Regions from separate parts of the Homo sapiens genome. Here region 2 is linked to region 1. Evidence: promoter capture Hi-C in human tissues and cell types (Jung and others, 2019). All regions are on one chromosome and are shown on one strand. The core of a region is centred on a gene start or on the middle of the fragment in contact, and the rest is flanking DNA. Distances in the headings are between cores, read along the strand shown. Region 1 holds the start of OR2D3 (olfactory receptor family 2 subfamily D member 3). Region 2 has its middle 47 kb from the start of ZNF215.

What was found. Contacts are between HindIII fragments. The study calls those that stand out against the background at their distance.
Region 2: a contact is called between a fragment that was not itself captured here and the fragment with the promoter of OR2D3 in region 1, in 1 of the 25 tissues and cell types used here (pancreas).

Annotation. Positions count from the first base shown.
Region 1 is chr11:6,919,325-6,922,477 of GRCh38, reverse strand. It overlaps OR2D3 (olfactory receptor family 2 subfamily D member 3), which reads right to left and starts at 1,476. Exons shown (of 1, transcript NM_001004684.1): 1 at 484-1,476. The coding sequence starts at 1,476. The coding sequence ends at 484. The region is part of intron 3 of LOC107984019 (a long non-coding RNA gene); the gene reads left to right. The HindIII fragment of the contact is 21,059 bases long and covers 1-3,153 here.
Region 2 is chr11:6,971,771-6,974,923 of GRCh38, reverse strand. It overlaps a transcript of ZNF215 not described here. Among named protein-coding and RNA genes, the nearest start is that of ZNF215, 47 kb to the right of the region's middle. The HindIII fragment of the contact is 5,832 bases long and covers 1-3,153 here.

The DNA.
Region 1 (3,153 bases), core at 227-2,726:
TCTGGTACCTTTTCACAAGCTGAAGTGCTCTAGGATCTAATGAACCCAGTATTAAAGACTCTTACAGATATTTTAATTGTTTTAATCAGAGCCTATTCTAAGGTTTGTATGCTGAAGACATACAAACTTGAGATATCTTTGATGTTAGAATTATGCTTGCAATTTGTATTAGCTGTTATTTCAGAATAATCTGGTTGAAACCTCCTAGATTCAATTGTGACTGTGCTTAAAACATGCCATGGCAGCTGAATTAACTACAAACTCCTCACAGTAGCACCCAACACCTTTTACAATCAAGAAATGACCTAACTTTTCATGCTTTTATTTTTTCCCTATGTTCTAGTTTAGATTGTAGTATTCACAGTTTTTAGAACATGTTCATTTTCACACTTCTTCCTGAAATAACCTAATTCATAATTGCCTACTAAAATCTTGCTCCTTTTTAAAGAATGTTGCCATAGCTCTAAAAGTCAGACTCAGAGGTCACTGCCTATGAGAGAAGCACTTTCTCCCAACTAGTTTCCTGAGAGCCCCTTTGACATCTTTGTTCCTCAAGCTATAAATTATGGGGTTCAACATTGGAGTCACCGCTGTATAGAACACAGATATCATTTTATCCAGTTCTTTTGTAGTCTTGGAGTTTGGTCGCATGTAGGTGAATATTCCTGACCCATAGAAGAGGACAACAACAATAAGATGGGAGCCACAGGTGGAAAAAGCCTTGAGTCTCCCTTCCCCAGACTGCATCTGGATAACAGTGGAGATAATATTCCAATAAGAACCAAGAATCAGGGAGACAGGGGCCAGGAGGATTACCACGCCCATTGAAAAGATGGCCATTTCTGTGCTGTAAGTGTCTATGGAAGCCAGCTTCAGGAGGGCAGGAGGTTCACAAAAGTAGTGATTGATTATATTCTGTCCCCAGTAGGGAAGATGGAAAGTAAAGCTGGTATCTACTAAAGACACTAGTGCCCCACTGGCCCAGGACCTGAAGGACAGCCAGAGACACACCCGTTGTGTCATGATGGTAGAGTAGTACAGGGGCTTGCAGACAGCCACATACCGGTCATAGGACATCACTGCCAGCAGCGCACACTCTGTACACCCAACCAGAAGAAAGACAATTATCTGTGTCATACACCCATAAAAAGAAATGGTTTTCCTCTTTACCAAGAAGTGAACCAACACTTGAGGGACAATGCTAGTAGAGAAACAGAGATCTGCAAAGGAGAGATTTCTAAGAAAAAAATACATGGGAGTGTGAAGGCGAGAATCCAGGAAGATGAGAATGATGATGAGCTGGTTTCCAAGCACGGTCAGCAGATAAATGATGAGGAAAAGGATAAATAGCAGGATCTGGGTCTGCAAGTCCTGTGAAAGACCCAGGAAGATAAACTTGGACACAAAGGTTTGGTTTTCTTCTCCCATTGATATTTTTGCCTGTTTACCTGTTTGGCACAAGAAAAAAGAACACATTTTTTTGGGTCTGTGACATCAAGTCTTGTAGAAGAGGGTCATGTTAAAACTGACACCTAGTTGAGTATTTCTAGCTCTTTGCTATCTAGCTTGTTCTAATTAACAATAAATATATATATTTATTATTATTAGTTGGTTGCAATTTAAACCAACTTAGTTATTTTCCAAGTCCTCTCTCCACAGTGCCGCTTTTTAATAGATAAAGTATGATACTGTGAAAGCCCTCTTGGCTAGTTCTGATGTAAGGATGTTAGAGTTCATGTGGATTTTACTAACTGGCTATAAATATACTGTTAGGAAATGACTGTATATACTGTTAGGACTATCCTTATGCAGAAAACTCTACCACTAACTATTTAAAATACGACATATTTAATTATAACACATACTTCAAAACTGTGAAGCAGTTTTCAGGAATCAAACTTAATTTGACCTATTAAGAAGCAACAGACTTTTGCTGGATTTAAAAGTAAAGCCTTAGCTATACTACACTAAAGGCCAAACTATTTGGATTAAGAAATAAGATATTAAAATTAAAGCAATACAAAAAGAAAAAATAAGTTAAAATTGTTGTGATACTTGGATAGGACCAGACTTGAAAAACACAAATACTTTCTAAGAAACCATGGAGAAAAATATATGCAGAATTTGCCACACAAATGGAAAGACTTCTGTGAGATAATAGTATCATAAGATAAGCCACAAACTGAGAAAAATATTGGAGAGAGGTATCAGAAAAAAAATTTAAATAATTTTATTTTTCTTCAACTTTTATTTCAGAATTAAGGTACACATGCAGGTTTGTTACAAAGTTTGGAGTACAAATGCTAAGGTTTGGTGTACAAATCAATCTGCCACCCAAGTAGTGAGCATAGTACCCAAGAAGTAGTTTTTCAGCCGTTTACCCCCTTACTCTCCCCACTCTAGTCATCCCCAGAGTCTGTCGTTCCCATCTTTATGTCAATGTGTACCCAATGTTTAGCTCCCACTTACAAGTAAGAACATGTGATATTTGGTTTCCTGTTCCTGCATTAGTTCGCTTAGGATAATGGCTTTGAGCTGCATTCATGTTGCTGTGAAGAACATGATTTCATTCTTTTTCATGGCTGCATAATATTCCATTGTGTATATGTTCCACATTTTCTTTATCCAGTCCACCACTGATGGGCACCTGGGTTGATTCCATGTCTTTTTTATTGTGAATAGTGCTGTGATGAACATATAATTGTGTGTGTCTTTTTGGTGGAATGATTTATTTTCCTTTGGGTGTATATACAGCAGTGGGATTGTTGGATCAAATATTACTTTAATTCTTAGTTCCTTGAGAAGTCCCTAAACTGCTCTCCACAGTGGCTGCACTAATTTACCTTCTACTAACAGCGTATTAGTGTTCCCTTTTTTCTGCAGCCTCACCATCATATGTTATTTCTTGACTTTTTGATGAAAGCCATTCTGATTGGTGAAAGATGGTATATCAGTAACAGACCCACAGCCAACATCTTACTGAATGGGCAAAAGCTGGAACCATTCTGACTGAGAACTGGAACAAGACAAGGATACCCACTCTTACCACTCATATTCAATATAGTACTAGAAGAGAAAAAAATGAAAGGCATCCAAATAGGAAAAGAAGTCAAATTAAATGACCTGATTACATTAAGAGTTTGTAGAAAGCTA
Region 2 (3,153 bases), core at 360-2,859, 52 kb before region 1:
GTTGGAAGTTCCGGCCAGGGCAATCAGGCAGGAGAAAGAAATAAAGGGCATTCAATTAGGAAAAGAGGAAGTCAAATTGTCCCTGTTTGCAGATGACATGATTGTATATCTAGAAAACCCCATCGTCTCAGCCCAAAATCTCCTTAAGCTGATAAGCAACTTCAGCAAAGTCTCAGGATACAAAATCAATGTGCAAAAATCACAAGCATTCTTATACATCAATAACAGACAAACAGAGAGCCAAATCATGAGTGAACTCCCATTCACAATTGCTTCAAAGAGAATAAAATACCTAGGAATCCAACTTACAAGGGATGTGAAGGACCTCTTCAAGAACTACAAACCACTGCTCAATGAAATAAAAGAGGATACAAACAAATGGAAAAACATTCCATGCTCATGGATAGGAAGAATCAATATCATGAAAATGGCCATACTGCCCAAGGTAATTTATAGATTCAATGCCATCCCTATCAAGCTACCAATGACTTTCTTCCCAGAATTGGAAAAAACTACTTTAAAGTTCATATGGAACCAAAAAAGAGCCCACATGGCCAAGTCAATCCTAAGCCAAAAGAACAAAGCTGGAGGCATCACGCTACCTGACTTCAAACTATACTACAAGGCAACAGTAACCAAAACAGCATGGTACTGGTACCAAAACAGGGATATAGACCAATGGAACAGAACAGAGCCCTCAGAAATAATACCACACATCTACAACCATCTGATCTTTGACAAACCTGACAAAAACAAGAAATGGGGAAAGGATTCCCTATTTAAGAAATGGTGCTGGGAAAACTGGCTAGCCATATGTAGAAAGCTGAAACTGGATCCCTTCCTTACACCTTATACAAAAATTAATTCAAGATAGATTAAAGACTTAAATATTAGACCTAAAACCATAAAAACCCTAGAAGAAAACCTAGGCAGTACCATTCAGTACATAGAAATGGGCAAGGACTTCATGTCTAAAACACCAAAAGCAATAGCAACAAAAGCCAAAATTGACAAATGGGATCTAATTTAAACTAAAGAGCTTCTGCACAGCTAAAGAAACTACCATCAGAGTCAACAGGCAACCTACAGAATGGGAAAAAGTTTTTGTAATCTACTCATCTGACAAAGGGCTAATATCCAGAATCCACAAAGAACTCAAACAAGTTTACAAGGTTAAAACAACCCCATCAACAAGTGGGTGAAGGATATGAACAGACACTTCTCAAAAGAAGACATTTATGCAGCCAACAGACACAGGAAAAAATGCTCATCATCACTGGCCATCAGAGAAATGCAAATCAAAACCACAATGAGATACCATCTCACACCAGTTAGAATGGCGATCATTAAAAAGTCAGGAAACAACAGGTGCTGGACAGGTTGTGGAGAAATAGGAAGACTTTTACACTGGTGGTGGGACTGTAAACTAGTTCAACCATTGTGGAAGACAGTGTGGCAATTCCTCAGGGATCTAGAACTAGAAATACCATTTGACCCAGCCATCCCATTACTGGGTATATACCCAAAGGATTATAAATCATGCTGCTATAAAGACACATGCACACGTATGTTTATTGTGGCACTATTCACAATAGCAAAGACTTGGAACCAATCCAAATGCCCATCAATGATAGACTGGATTAAGAAAATGTGGCACATATACACCATGGAATACTATGCAGCCATAAAAAATGATGAGTTCATGTCCTTTGTAGGGACATGGATGAAGCTGGAAACCATCATTCTGAGCAAACTATTGCAAGGACAGAAAACCAAACACTGCATGTTCTCACTCATAGGTGGGAATTGAGCAATGAGAACACTTGGAGACAGGAAGGGGGACATCACACACCGGGGCCTGTTGTGGGGTGGGAGGGAAAGCATTATGAGATATACTTAATGTAAATGACGAGTTAATGGGTACAGCACACCAACATGGCACATGTATACACATGTAACAAACCTGCACGTTTTGCACATGTACCCTAGAACTTAAAGTATAATAAAAAAAATTAAAAAAATCCTTTCAATGCTAAGGGCTATTTTATGACATTGGAAATGCACAGTCTGAATTTCTCGACAGATCAGCTCTTTCTAGTCTCTTGAGCCCTACAATTATAGTTCACACTATTGTAATACTGTCTTGATAATCATTTTATAGGAAAATACAATGTAATTATTTCAGTTTCATCTCTGTCAAAATTTCTTTGGCATTTGCCAGGGAAGATTTCTGCTTTCCTTGAAATTCCACCTTCCATTGATTTATATAAGAGTTTTGGTATTTATGAAAGTAAAAGATCTTCCACTCTAATTTAAAATCCATTTATTAAAATCACTCGTGAATTTTACTTGCAAAAATCTCTTGCAAGGAGAAAAGCTTAAAGATACATTCCCAATTTAGTAGGAGAGTTTACAGTATTTGTAGTTATTCAATAGTTATTAAGTTAAATATAAAAAACAATCTGTGAATTTATAGGAAGTAAACTGCTACAATATTGGTTAAAAAAAAAAAAAAGTCTCCTAGGATAAACTTAGTCTAACGGGGGCTGATGAATTATGTGGGCCAAATTTGGCCTGTCACCTGTTTTTGTAAATAAAGTCTTATTTTAACAGTCATACCCATTCATTATGTATTGTTTATGGCTGCTTTTGTAAAAAATTGAGTAGTTTTGACAAAGAGTGACTATATAACCTATAAAGTCTAAAATATTTACTATCTCATTCTCCACAAAGAAAACAAAAGGTTACTGATGCCTGGTCTTTAATTTTAAATTTACAAATATAATTATCTCACTCAAACATTTAATGTAGTTTCCCAGATAATAGTAGGCAGTCTCAAGGTTCTAGATGAGTAGTCTTGGGAAGACAACTATTAAAACACATCTCTGAGTAGTACAGGGAAAAAAAATTTCCTTTAGTAAATAGACTTGGCAAAAACAACCTTACAGTGCCAATATGTAGTTTAAAAATGACTTTAATTTAAAATTTGTTAGCTATTCTGTAAGTACTCTATAACATTTTCCAGTTTATTCCTAAGAGACAATGGCTAACCCTGCTTTATGTACTCAAAAACACCTTTATCAATATTCTCTTCCCAGCTTGAGTTCTTGCTAAATGTTGTTTTAACTTTATGTCTATGGTTTCGATGATAAA